5 separate regions of the Homo sapiens genome follow, and all the other regions are linked to region 1. The links are contacts of gene promoters, found by promoter capture Hi-C in blood cells and fetal thymus (Javierre and others, 2016). All regions are on one chromosome and are shown on one strand. Each heading gives the region's core, a stretch centred on a gene start or on the middle of the fragment in contact. The rest is flanking DNA. Distances are from core to core; before and after follow the strand shown.

The links. The method cuts DNA at HindIII sites, captures the fragments that hold promoters and counts their contacts. A CHiCAGO score of 5 or more calls a contact.
Region 2: a fragment that was not itself captured here is called in contact with the fragment with the promoter of HNRNPA2B1 in region 1 in 1 of 17 cell types (neutrophils); the score reaches 6.0 in neutrophils.
Region 3: a contact is called between a fragment that was not itself captured here and the fragment with the promoter of HNRNPA2B1 in region 1, in 1 of 17 cell types (neutrophils). The highest score is 6.5, in neutrophils.
Region 4: a fragment that was not itself captured here is called in contact with the fragment with the promoter of HNRNPA2B1 in region 1 in 1 of 17 cell types (neutrophils); the score reaches 7.2 in neutrophils.
Region 5: a contact is called between the fragment with the promoter of HIBADH here and the fragment with the promoter of HNRNPA2B1 in region 1, in 1 of 17 cell types (neutrophils). The highest score is 5.9, in neutrophils.

Annotation. Positions count from the first base shown.
Region 1 is chr7:26,199,279-26,201,995 of GRCh38, reverse strand. It overlaps HNRNPA2B1 (heterogeneous nuclear ribonucleoprotein A2/B1), which reads left to right and starts at 1,250. Exons shown (of 11, transcript NM_002137.4): 1 at 1,250-1,424. The coding sequence starts at 1,419. CBX3 (chromobox 3) reads right to left here and starts at 251. Exons shown (of 6, transcript NM_016587.4): 1 at 170-251. RefSeq lists a silencer at 1-366 and enhancers at 1,307-1,696, 862-1,834, 1,807-1,926, 1,835-2,717. The HindIII fragment of the contact is 8,290 bases long and covers 1-2,717 here.
Region 2 is chr7:28,170,737-28,173,453 of GRCh38, reverse strand. All of the region lies in intron 1 of JAZF1 (JAZF zinc finger 1), which reads left to right. Among named protein-coding and RNA genes, the nearest start is that of JAZF1-AS1, 8.4 kb to the left of the region's middle. The HindIII fragment of the contact is 5,027 bases long and covers 1-2,717 here.
Region 3 is chr7:28,060,242-28,062,958 of GRCh38, reverse strand. The region is part of intron 1 of JAZF1 (JAZF zinc finger 1); the gene reads left to right. LOC105375208 (a long non-coding RNA gene) reads right to left here. Exons shown (of 4, transcript XR_001744910.3): 4 at 745-1,038. Among named protein-coding and RNA genes, the nearest start is that of JAZF1-AS1, 120 kb to the left of the region's middle. The HindIII fragment of the contact is 2,901 bases long and covers 1-2,717 here.
Region 4 is chr7:27,749,899-27,752,615 of GRCh38, reverse strand. All of the region lies in intron 2 of TAX1BP1 (Tax1 binding protein 1), which reads right to left. Among named protein-coding and RNA genes, the nearest start is that of TAX1BP1-AS1, 11 kb to the right of the region's middle. The HindIII fragment of the contact is 1,532 bases long and covers 551-2,082 here.
Region 5 is chr7:27,661,573-27,664,289 of GRCh38, reverse strand. HIBADH (3-hydroxyisobutyrate dehydrogenase) reads left to right here and starts at 1,407. Exons shown (of 8, transcript NM_152740.4): 1 at 1,407-1,592. The coding sequence starts at 1,502. The region is part of intron 2 of LOC105375211 (a long non-coding RNA gene); the gene reads right to left. RefSeq lists a silencer at 1,218-1,637 and an enhancer at 853-1,670. The HindIII fragment of the contact is 13,796 bases long and covers 1-2,717 here.

The sequences.
Region 1 (2,717 bases), core at 1-2,500:
AGGCCAGCCGCGAGGCCACCGCCCGACCCTCCACTCCTTCCCGCAGCTCCCGGCGCGGGGTCCGGCGAGAAGGGGAGGGGAGGGGAGCGGAGAACCGGGCCCCCGGGACGCGTGTGGCATCTGAAGCACCACCAGCGAGCGAGAGCTAGAGAGAAGGAAAGCCACCGACTTCACCGCCTCCGAGCTGCTCCGGGTCGCGGGTCTGCAGCGTCTCCGGCCCTCCGCGCCTACAGCTCAAGCCACATCCGAAGGGGGAGGGAGCCGGGAGCTGCGCGCGGGGCCGCCGGGGGGAGGGGTGGCACCGCCCACGCCGGGCGGCCACGAAGGGCGGGGCAGCGGGCGCGCGCCCGGCGGGGGGAGGGGCCGCGCGCCGCGCCCGCTGGGAATTGGGGCCCTAGGGGGAGGGCGGAGGCGCCGACGACCGCGGCACTTACCGTTCGCGGCGTGGCGCCCGGTGGTCCCCAAGGGGAGGGAAGGGGGAGGCGGGGCGAGGACAGTGACCGGAGTCTCCTCAGCGGTGGCTTTTCTGCTTGGCAGCCTCAGCGGCTGGCGCCAAAACCGGACTCCGCCCACTTCCTCGCCCCTGCGGTGCGAGGGTGTGGAATCCTCCAGACGCTGGGGGAGGGGGAGTTGGGAGCTTAAAAACTAGTACCCCTTTGGGACCACTTTCAGCAGCGAACTCTCCTGTACACCAGGGGTCAGTTCCACAGACGCGGGCCAGGGGTGGGTCATTGCGGCGTGAACAATAATTTGACTAGAAGTTGATTCGGGTGTTTCCGGAAGGGGCCGAGTCAATCCGCCGAGTTGGGGCACGGAAAACAAAAAGGGAAGGCTACTAAGATTTTTCTGGCGGGGGTTATCATTGGCGTAACTGCAGGGACCACCTCCCGGGTTGAGGGGGCTGGATCTCCAGGCTGCGGATTAAGCCCCTCCCGTCGGCGTTAATTTCAAACTGCGCGACCGTTTCTCACCTGCCTTGCGCCAAGGCAGGGGGCGGGACCCTATTCCAAGAGGTAGTAACTAGCAGGACTCTAGCCTTCCGCAATTCATTGAGCGCATTTACGGAAGTAACGTCGGGTACTGTCTCTGGCCGCAAGGGTGGGAGGAGTACGCATTTGGCGTAAGGTGGGGCGTAGAGCCTTCCCGCCATTGGCGGCGGATAGGGCGTTTACGCGACGGCCTGACGTAGCGGAAGACGCGTTAGTGGGGGGGAAGGTTCTAGAAAAGCGGCGGCAGCGGCTCTAGCGGCAGTAGCAGCAGCGCCGGGTCCCGTGCGGAGGTGCTCCTCGCAGAGTTGTTTCTCGAGCAGCGGCAGTTCTCACTACAGCGCCAGGACGAGTCCGGTTCGTGTTCGTCCGCGGAGATCTCTCTCATCTCGCTCGGCTGCGGGAAATCGGGCTGAAGCGACTGAGTCCGCGATGGAGGTAACGGGTTTGAAATCAATGAGTTATTGAAAAGGGCATGGCGAGGCCGTTGGCGCCTCAGTGGAAGTCGGCCAGCCGCCTCCGTGGGAGAGAGGCAGGAAATCGGACCAATTCAGTAGCAGTGGGGCTTAAGGTTTATGAACGGGGTCTTGAGCGGAGGCCTGAGCGTACAAACAGCTTCCCCACCCTCAGCCTCCCGGCGCCATTTCCCTTCACTGGGGGTGGGGGATGGGGAGCTTTCACATGGCGGACGCTGCCCCGCTGGGGTGAAAGTGGGGCGCGGAGGCGGGAATTCTTATTCCCTTTCTAAAGCACGCTGCTTCGGGGGCCACGGCGTCTCCTCGGCGAGCGTTTCGGCGGGCAGCAGGTCCTCGTGAGCGAGGCTGCGGAGCTTCCCCTCCCCCTCTCTCCCGGGAACCGGATTTGGCGGCCGCCATTTTCATGGCTCGCCTTCCTCTCAGCGTTTTCCTTATAACTCTTTTATTTTCTTAGTGTGCTTTCTCTATCAAGAAGTAGAAGTGGTTAACTATTTTTTTTTCTTCTCGGGCTGTTTTCATATCGTTTCGAGGTGGATTTGGAGTGTTTTGTGAGCTTGGATCTTTAGAGTCCTGCGCACCTCATTAAAGGCGCTCAGCCTTCCCCTCGATGAAATGGCGCCATTGCGTTCGGAAGCCACACCGAAGAGCGGGGAGGGGGGGTGCTCCGGGTTTGCGGGCCCGGTTTCAGAGAAGATATCACCACCCAGGGCGTCGGGCCGGGTTCAATGCGAGCCGTAGGACAAAGAAACCATTTTATGTTTTTCCTGTCTTTTTTTTCCTTTGAGTAACGGTTTTATCTGGGTCTGCAGTCAGTAAAACGACAGATGAACCGCGGCAAAATAAACATAAATTGGAAGCCATCGGCCACGAGGGGCAGGGACGAAGGTGGTTTTCTGGGCGGGGGAGGGATATTCGCGTCAGAATCCTTTACTGTTCTTAAGGATTCCGTTTAAGTTGTAGAGCTGACTCATTTTAAGTAATGTTGTTACTGAGAAGTTTAACCCTTACGGGACAGATCCATGGACCTTTATAGATGATTACGAGGAAAGTGAAATAACGATTTTGTCCTTAGTTATACTTCGATTAAAACATGGCTTCAGAGGCTCCTTCCTGTAATGCGTATGGATTGATGTGCAAAACTGTTTTGGGCCTGGGCCGCTCTGTATTTGAACTTTGTTACTTTTCTCATTTTGTTTGCAATCTTGGTTGAACATTACATTGATAAGCATAAGGTCTCAAGCGAAGGGGGTCTACC
Region 2 (2,717 bases), core at 68-2,567, 2.0 Mb before region 1:
ACCACATATATGTGTGTACGTATATCCATATGTGTGTATATATTTATGTGTGTATATGTATACATTTGTATTATACATTTTTTCCCTCTCTTTCAAGATCACCATGGATAGTGAGGACAGCCACACATTTTTGAGTATTTCCTATGTTAGTGCTTAAGACAGTACTTCCTATCTCTAAGGATTTGAAATTTATTTGGAGAGACCAGACATGTACAGACTGAGATAAATAATGAATAATAATAGGGACCACAGAGGCAGATTTATTGTGAAGCTAATGAAGCTCCAGCCCCAGGGCCCCTGACTTGTACAACGCATTCCTTGCCGTTTTTGAATATATTGCCAGGGCCCACCCAGCACTTTCCAGGGCCCTGGAGGAGCCCTAGCAGTATACGTAGCTGGGCCTTCATGGGATCATAACTGGTAAAATTGGAAGAAGATTTTAAGCAATCCTTTAATGTTTTTCTTTCTCATTCTGACTTCCCTGCTGTCACATTTCTGTTTGGGTTTGATGACATTGGACTTGAAAGTGCTTTTGAGATATAGCTAGGGGGAAGTCGAATTGGGTCCACATTTTGTTTGGGTTTAGTGGGATGTATTTATGCAGTTCACAGTCATCTCTGTGTCAAGTTATCCCTAGCCATCCTAGTGTAGAAGTTGCTTCATAGGATCGCCACCCACCGTGCCAGCTTACCTGGGGTCCTTACACAAAGGGGAGGGTCAGAGAGAGAATTGCAGTGTTAACGGGTACCATGACATCTGCTGTGGGATGGTTTATGGTGCGTGGAGCCAGGTCTGTGGAGAATTCTTTCACTTGTTAGATGTGTAAAATTCTACGTGGAGGATTCAGTTCTTATCTAAGTGTAGTCAGTATGAAAATTCTCTTCTTTTAGGAATATACTCAATAATACAAATATACTATTAGAAATGCACCATTTTTAATGGGAATTCTGTGTTTAAGATTCTTGTTCATTTGACATGAATATGCCTGATACCAAAAATACTGACAACAAACTGGTTAATGAGTATCATTGATAAAAAGAATATTTAAAGTTAGTCATTGCACGAGAAAACTTGAAATGTCCTGGATTTTTATGGCTCATATGTGAAAGAAAATTAAGAGATGTGATTACAGGTTTGACAACAATCCTAAAAATGTATATGTCATTGCCAATAAAGAACTATAAGGCTAAAAGTAACTTTTCTGAATTGTCAATAATTAGGAATAAATTTTGATCACCCATGCTTGAGGGGAGATTGATTCATCTTTCTGCCCTGTGGAAAATGATATGAATATAAGTCATTGTGATATGAGGATTCATCAGAGTATACAGCCCAAAAGAAGTATTTATAGCAGTGTGTCAGGAAGTTAATTAATACACATACTGGGTTCTTTTCCTGGATTCTGATTTTAGGATGTTTTGGTATTGCGGCTTGTAAAATTTTGTGATTTGTTGTGATTTCTTAATCTCAATAGATAATCACTTTTGTAAACATTTTATAACATTCAATTTTTTTTCATAAGAAAAGTCTGAATCTGCAGGCCCACAAAACTTGGGTCTATTCCTTGAGCTCCCAATTCGGGAATCATTACTATATGTGCCACAGACAGTGCTAAATAATTTTTGTATAGTATTTCATTGGCCCTCACAGCAAGCCTGTGAAGTAGACATTACCCCCATCCTGTAAGTACTGCCTTCCGCTTTGGAGTTAAATATGCTACCATATTAGTTAAATAACACACTTAGTGAAATATGAACTAGAGTGTTTGTTTATATTGGTATAAAACAGAAATATTTTTCTTCAGGACAGAAAGCCTCTTTTACCTCAATAAATATCATTATTTTAATGGGTCTTCCCCTCTCTGTCCTGTAGCCCCTGCCCACAGCTGCACCAGCGGGGGTGTGCTCTGAACTGTGTGGTCACCTCCTGTGCACTGTTTCCTCCCCCAGAAACTCAGGGTCTTGTCATCATCCTATCCTCGTCCCCAAGACGTGTTTTCAGAAATGGTATGAAAATAAAAATTGAGAAGTACTTTGGGCTGTGAAAAAAATAAATTACAAAGGTAACTTTGGACAGTGAAAAACATCTTTGAAATTAATTTCTGTAGGTTTGCATCAATGAGGGCTGTATATTTATATGTTTATGTGTTTATGGCATTCACACAAATATCCATTATGCAATTAGTCCAGTATGGTTTATATTAAGGGAATCTGAAAGAGACTCTTTTTAAAGCTGATTTAAAAAGGAAATTGATTTTCCTTGTTAAATTGCCAGGGGTATTTGGTACACAGGAGGCAGAGGCCTGGGTGGTGAGAAGCATGGACTGTGAAGCTATACAGAATTGGATTTTGAATCCTCCTGATCTCACTAACTTGAGCTTTTCAAACTTGGGCAGCTCTTACAGTCTTATTTATATGAGATAGTAATACTATTATTTATTATTTGGGGGGATCCCGAGATTGATTTTCCTTTCACAGTACCTACTGGCTAGTTGCTTTAATATGCATTATGCAGTGTTAGTCCCATGCGACGCAGGAGGAAGCCAGGACACAGAGCAAAGAACAGCCAGGAAAATGCCCGGGGTAGCCAGGGCCGGCTTTGCTGCCAGGTGTGCCCATATACTCAGTGCTTGCTCTTTACAGCCTAAGTTGTGATCTTTTACAAGATGTTTGCATTTTCATTGAAGGCTCTTCCGCACCTGAAAGTCTTGGAGAAAT
Region 3 (2,717 bases), core at 126-2,625, 1.9 Mb before region 1:
AGATGGCATATTTTTAATGGATAGAGTAAGTGGTGTATGATGAGGAAAGAGTAGATGACTATATGAATTCAGAAATGAGAATTAAACAGTGTCAGTCTGGGTCAAACGAGGAGACAAAAACCACAAAGGAATTTAAACAGGAAGTTTAGTGTAAGGAATTACTAAACTAAGATAGGAGAGTAACTATAAAGATGTAAAGAAAACTCAATAAGTGCCCTAAGGCTGAAGAAAAATACGCAAGGAAGGACACACTCGGAAGCCACTCCCCAAGGCTGGGTTCAGACTGCTTTGGAGAGGATGTGGATGTCGCTCCCTGTGATGTCACAGAAGTTTGCTGGCTTTGGGGCACAGGCAACCTGAGGCTGGTGGAGAGTTGGAGTATCACGGTGGGCACTTGGAGTATCACGGTGGGCACAAGGCCTGCATGCAGCATGCAGGGTCTGTGTGGGAGGCCTGTGGAAAGGTGGTTACTCAGCCTCAGGACAGGGCTGCGTAGTCACTAAGGGACTGCATGCTCTGCACACAAGACTGGAGCAGAGATGTCCCTATATACATGCACCGCTGAAGGACAGTGAAGCAGCAGCAAGAAAACGTCAAAACACAGTACTCTGGAGCCATTACAGTGTCCCTGCGGCGCCCTCTACTGACAAGGCCTAACACTGAGGTCACTCTAACTAACTAATATTGAGCTCACTCAATCTTAGGCTTTGAGTAAGGAAGAAATGCTTCGAGTCCAGTCCATTATCACAGAGCAGCTATTAAGGGGTGTATTTGGAGTTGAACAGTGATGACCTGACGGTTGGCACAACCCCAAATCCCAGATCCCAGTTTAGCCAGGGGCATTTTGTTTTGTTGTGATAATTTATAAACAAATCAATAGGAGCTCATTTCTCTTGCAGGGTTCACGCTCTACCTTGTAACTGAAGTACTCAGTAAAAAATTCTGTGGTTTTGCTGGGTTTCCCCACTCCGTCCTTCACCGTTAGGCCAGATCCTTTGTGTCCAATCACATTTCTGTATGGCTGTTCATTCATCAAACCTAAATATAAAAATAAAGATTTTCATGGCTGGGCAAAATGTGTTCATGATAATAAGATTGATTTTGATACTTTAAAAATGTTCACATATTAAAATCAAGAAATACCCACTTGTCTTACTAAAGCCAGCTCTTTCAGATTGTATGCATGGTGTATGTCTTTTTACATTATTTGTAATATACTGGGTTTTCACCATTGTAAATACGGCCATTCTGGGCCTGAAAACTCTCCTGGCTCTTATTTGTGTAGCTCTATCTCATAAGGCTTAGTAAGAGCAAGGGATAATCACGTTTAACAAAGCCATTTCTTTTTGCTATTAACATGCTCACCTTTACACTTGATGGCAACAGCTGAATCCCTCCATTAGGCATCATTAAAATTATTCTTTGGGTTATTTTGATTAATGCTTTTTACTTTCATTGTACTCCCTCTTGGTCCTAAATGGTAAGAGCAGTTAAATAGGAGTGTTCAGCGGAGTGTGTCTGCCATTCATTGTTATGCATATATTTATGTGTTTTGTGTACTTTCTTAAACAGAGGTTTCATAAAAATGAGTGCACTGGCAGAAATGTTTATATAAAATTACATTTTGCAGAGCTTGATTTTATAACGTGATCATACAAGAGAGAATGTTAAGGAGTAGAAAGCAGCATCTGCATTGTAAGGTCTCATCATGGTACCACAATCTAATAGTAATAGTAATAATAATGCCTTGTTTTCTTTTGAATGCTGGCTATGGCCAGCCGTATTCTAAGTGCTTTACTGCACTAACTCATTTGATCCTTACAAAAACCCATGTATGAGGCAAGTACTATTCTTGTTCCCATTTTAGAAGTAGGAATATTAAAGCAGAGTTTAAATAACTTCCCAAGGCTGCCTGGCTAATCAGTGCTGTGCAGAAATTTGAACCCAGGCACTAGTTTCAAAGCTCTCATTCTGAACCATTGTAAATCATACTGCCTGCAGGATCAGTGGAAGAGATTTTTTTCAATTGTACTGCCAATGTGACAAGACAGGAAGAAATGCTCAGATGCTAAATACCAAGTGAAATTTGGAAACCCAGAGAGAGCTCTGGAGGCTCTGGACTTTCACCCTGAACTTGCTCTTAGGTTTTTACAACCTCCAGAGCCACAGAAGGAAAACTCTAGGCCCACCCAAGTTGAACTGTATAATTAGCAAAGGCTCCTCCCACCATGGAACTGGTACCTCTAAGCTATATTCTCTTGGTAATGGCAAGCTAGAAAAAAACCTGAGACTCCTCCAAGGAAAATTTTCTGTCTTGAACCTTAGAGCTATGTGGAGGAGCAAAAAATAAATCTCCTCAGAAAATCTGTAACCACAGAACAGCTTGTGGATTTACAGCTGAAATTCACACTAGCTGAATGGTCAGAAAAACATTCAGCTTAGAATCTAATTAAAATGGTACCAGGTTGGTAGTTGCTCTTGTCAGCTAGCAGAAGCAAATGCAGATTCTTTGTGAAGGAATTCTTTATTTGACCATAAAGAATCGTTACAGAATTCCTAAAATACATTAGCTCCCATTCAAAAATCTCAAAACACACACAAAAAATAAATCATTATGAACAAGAGTCAGCAGAATCAACCTGCAAAGACTTCAGGTACTGAATTTATCAGACATAATACATAAAATAAGTAAGTTTACTATGTTTACAAAAATGGAA
Region 4 (2,717 bases), core at 67-2,566, 1.6 Mb before region 1:
CTTGTTTGGCTTCACTCATTTCCCTACCCAACCTGGACTTCACTATCAGTCAATCATTTCAATAATGTACTCAAAACCACCATAGTATCCTTTGTCCTCTTAACTTCCCTTCCCATTCCCACCCTTTTCCAACACCCAATTTGAATGACAGCCACTTCTGGCACTCTTGACACAACTCCAGATGCTGAATCTCTCTGGAAAAAGTCATAAAATTGCTGCTTAGTAATCTTCTGGTTAAGCCACTCCGATTCCCTATGACATTATTCCACAGTAGCAAGACCAATTATCTATACTCAAGCCCTCCCCAACTTTTAACATATGACCTTGCTCCTCCTTACTGAGATGCCATAGAATGAGTGCCAGTTCTAATTCAATTGACTGTTGACATATCCTATGAATTCTACTTATGGATTATTACACACAACTTACTTCCTTCTCCACTTTAGGCTTTCATTATCTCACATAGAAAATTAGGATAGTCTAAACGTTCTCTTTACCTCCATTCCTTTCGAATTCCAATTTATCTTACTCAGCACTATAAGATTAAGCTTCACTTCTAAACTTTATTACTCCTTACTTAAAAACTATCCCTCAAATATTAAAACAATCTACAACATGATCCAAACTAACTTTTCCCATTCATCTTCTAAAACTGGTATCTGTAGCTGGGCATGGTGGTTCACGCCTGCAATCCCAGCACTTATTTAGGCTGAGGCGGGTGGATCGCTTGAGCCCAGGAGTTCGAGACCAGCCCGGGCAACATGGCAAAACCCAGTCTCTAAAAAAATAATAATAATAAATTTTTAATTGATAGCTGTCCCAGGCAAATCAAATTCCTTAACACTTTCTCAAGCATACTACTTTCCCATCTTCATTCCTCCTCCCTTACAATTGCTACCCAGGCACTCTCTTCCTGCCTGCTTGTCAATATGGTGTCTATCAAAATCACTCTAGAGGGCAATTTGCAGTACACATAAAGTGCTTAAAAACAAACAATGCCATAAACATGGTGATTCTACTTCCAAGAACTTACCTTATGAAATAAGTAGACAAAATAAAGATAGGTAGAGATCTTTATTAAGTATTAATGATAAGCATTTAGCAACAATGTAAATTCCAATAGTAAGAAACTGGTTCAACGAATATATACACACACTATGATGCATCAGTAGTATGTGTGTATATATTTATTATACACACATTATGCATGTGTATAATTATTTGTAATTTTATTACATGTAGCTATATACCAATATGTTAACAATAGTTAACAGTAGGTAAAAGTGTTAAGCATGATTATTTTCTTCCTTGAGCCTTCCTGTATTACCTGAAATCTTTACTACATGCCTGAACTTCCTATTGAGTTTTAAAGTTTTATGCTGGCAAAAAGGATGGAAAGGGTATTAAACAGAAGATTTTTTTTTCTTTTTTGCTGAGAGAAAACTTACAATCCTTAAAGTGCACAATGAAAGAAGTATAGTTTAGCATTACCAAAGCAAAAAGGCAGCAGCAGGAATGACCAAAACTGAAGCTGGAAATAAAATCTTATACAGGAGCCCTGTATGGCTCTAGGTTATTTGGTCTTGGCATTATTCTACAGATGATGAAGAACCAATGAAGAGTTTCAAACAACAGAAAGACATGTTCAGGTTTCCATTTTACAGCTTATATAGAGCAGTTAAAAAACAAAGGTTAGAGGACAAGAATGAAAGTGGGTAAAACAGCTGACCTATTGCAATAGTCTTGGTAAAAAATATGGAAGGCATGAACTAGTGATATTAAGGATTTAGAAATATGTAAGCAGTAAAATGGTTAGAACTGATTGTTTGGATTTGAAGGGAAAGTCACAGTCTTTTGGCTTTAAAAAAATGAAAAAATATAAGAAATAAACAAGTAGTCTGCAGGAAAAAGGTAATAATTCATCTTCCTGAAACATACTTTTTCAAACAACCTATACATATACAAAGACTTCCCACTGTCCTTCAGAAAAAAGTCCATAAACTCTCTAACACTGAAGGTCGTCCATAGACAGAATGAAACTTATCTCCAATCTCATCTCCCACAACTTCCCTAACTGAAGCTTATGCTCTAGTTAAACTGACTTACTCATTCTCATGAACATTCCTACCTCTAAGCCTCTGCTTATACAGATTCAGTATCCCTTATCCGAAATGCTTGAGACCAGAAGTGCTTTGGATTTCTAAATCTGTCAGATTTTGGAGTATTTGCATTATACCTACTGGTTGGGCATCCCAAATCCAAAACATAAAATGTTCCAATAAGCATTTCCTTTGCACATCATGTCAGCATTCAAAAAGTTTTGGATTTTAAAGCATTTCAGATTTTAGATTTTCAGATTTAGGATGTTCAACCTGTACCATTTTCCTGCTGGAAATGCCCTTCTTTTTCCTCAGTCACATTTCTGTTTTCTTCCTCTCTGCTCTGTTACTACAGAAAACATCAGTTCTCAATCAGTATCTTTAACTTGATACCAGTATCTCCCATAAAATCGAAACTACTACTGAGGCCAGGTGCGGTGGCTCACACCTGTAATCCCAGCACTTTGGGAGGCTGGGACAGGAGGATCACTTAAGCCTAGGAAGTTAAAACCAGCCTAGGCAACATAGTGAGACCCTGTCTCTACAAAAAATTTTAAAAATTAGCCAGGCGTGGTGTTGTGTCTATAATCCCAGCTATTTGGAAGGCTGCGGGGAAAG
Region 5 (2,717 bases), core at 158-2,657, 1.5 Mb before region 1:
TGGGTAGAGGGTTGGGGTGGAGTGATGGTCAAAGAAGGGCATTAACTTCCTCCCAGTTACAGATAGGGACCTTGCACTCTGTACAAGTTTTTAAGTTTTTGGAAACGTTGCCAGCATGCCCAGAAACATGAAAAGAGCCCAGATGGAAATGATCCAATTCCTTTGCTTTCAACTCCATGGGTTACTGAGTTGAAAAAAAGGTCAAAGTCAAATTTTGTTGATTGTGCTACTTAGATTGGGGTTCGCATTTCCCTAGCTACTCCATACACATTCTCTTTCCTGCTGTATTGCCATTCTCCAAAGGCTATAGTCTTGCTTTGGTGTGGTCATGGCTTCCAACCCTTTGGTGGAGTCAGTGGAGATGAGAAGGCCTGCAATTACCCCCAAGGGGTTTACAGACTCAAATATGTACACTAAGCATTGACAGAAGAATGACTAAATGTCTGTCTCTCTGCACCGCGCAGTGGCTCACGCCTGTAATAACCAGCACTTTGGGAGGCCGAGGCGGGCGGATCACTTGACGCCAGGAGTTTGAGACCAGCCTAGGCAAAATGGCGACACCCCGCCTCTACTCAAAGTGCCAAAAAAATTAGCCGGGTGTGGTGGCGCACGCAGGCCTATAGTCCCACCTCACCTACTCCGGAGGCTGAAGCAGGAGAATCACTTGAACCCGGGAGGCGGAGATTGCAGTGAGCCGAGATCGCGCCACTGCACTCCAGCCTGGGTGACAGAGAGACTCCGTCTCCAAAAAAAAAAAAGGTCTTTCTAATACACATACATATACTACTACTTTCTGGATTTTATATTTAGTTTTGCTTACAAAATGGATTTAGGGTGTAGAATTTTCAAAGATTAGAGAAATATGCCTTGAAATAGAAAGTGCAAGTTTCTAGTAACTCTTCCCTTCAAAGATAATGTTACCAACTTCTTTTCCTACTATTTTTAGTATTGAGAAACTGTTGTGTTAAGTAAAATCAAATGAATTTAAAAGTTATTACACACATGGTAGCTTTCTGAGTGTTTTTCAAGCTGCGAGTCAGTTTTGTCCTTTTTAACACGCAGCGGTTGTGGGGACAAGGTTTCCGAGGAGGCGGGAGCGAGCGACGGCCCCCGCCTCCCACACGCCCTCTGCTTTGGTAAACAAGGAGACTCCCGCCCGCAGGCTGTAAATGAGGCACGAGCTTGGGGGCAGCGCCAGGGCGCCTGGCGTCACTGTTCAAAAAGGCCTCTTATTGGTCCTTCGCACAGCTGCGGACCTGGGAATTCTGATTGGTCTGCTTCCCTGTCCGTAAAGGGATTGACAGGCCCTGCCGCGTCAGGCCGCTCCTCTCGGCTCCGCGCTCCTTCCCTCGCGCGTGGGCACCCGCCCCCGAGCGGTGAGAGCGCGTGCGCGCGCGCCCTTCTCCGTGGGCGAGCCAGCCAGTCCCGCTGCACACGCTCGCAGTCTGTGGGCCCTCCGGGAGGCGGCGGAGGTCACCGCGGGGAGAGGGGCGGGCGCAGCATGGCAGCCTCCTTACGGCTCCTCGGAGCTGCCTCCGGTCTCCGGTACTGGAGCCGGCGGCTGCGGCCGGCAGCCGGCAGCTTTGCAGCGGGTAAGGACCTCACGCCTCCTCCCCCTTGTCCTTCTTTCGGCCGCTCGCTTCTTCTGTCCAGACGGCCGAAGAAGTCTTTTCTCGGGAGGCCCTGCGGTTGGGCTGGGGCTTAAAAAACAATATTTTGGCTGGTACTAAAGGCCTGTCCTTTTCTGCGGCCGCCACTCACTCCGCGAGTACCCCCCTCTGCCTTCCCTCCCTTTCTCCCGGGCTCCTGATGAACGGGTTCAGCGCCCTTTTCGGGATTTAGGAAGAGGTGGGGAAGAGCTTGGGCTGAAGAGAAGAGAGTATTTGGGACCCCGGCATGCTGCTTTGGAGTTAGGACTCCGAGGACGTTTGGAGCGCCCAACTCCAGGAGCAACCCGCACTCACCCCAGCGACCCCTGGTCTTTCAGCGCCCCCAGGGTGCACCTTGGGTTGGGGACACACTTGGGCAGCAGGGCCTGATGTTTAACCACCTGAGTCCGAGGGGATGGCCTTATTACACAAGCGGTGGCTGTACAAGCCAGGCAGTAAGTCTTTCAGCAAAGTTTCAGTCACCCTTGACCAGCAAGACGGGCTTCCCCCCTCTACTGTAACCTAAAAAAATGTCATTTTTGTCAAATTATGAACCAAAACACGTTCAGCGTCCTCAAGATTGTGGGCAGAATTAATCCTGCCTCCCTCCTCTCATACCATGGTAAATTGTGGAAGCTAGCCATGAACTTACAAAGAGGCAGTTTTTAGAGCCAGGATGAAGATCCACGGAGATCTAATACAGTCTTTCATACTCCGCACGAGGGACATGAGGCCCCTTGGATGAGTGAATCAGGATATTCCCAGCAAGACCTAGAAAGTTGTTATCAGTTGTTCCTAATTCCTTAACTTTCTATCACACCAGGACTCCTCTTTAATTGAAAAATTGGTTGATTTGTGGGGGCACTGCCGTTGTCTTCCTCAAACTGAAAGTTTGAGAGTTGTAACAATGCATCGTTTAGCAAGATCATACTGAGGATTAATAACAAAAAAAACCTTGGCATTAATTTTTTCTAATCTTTGCTTAAAAAAAAAATAGTGGGTTAGGATTTGAGCCCCTTGGCCCCCCGCCCTTTTTTTTTTTTTTTTTTTTTTTTGAGACAGGGTCTC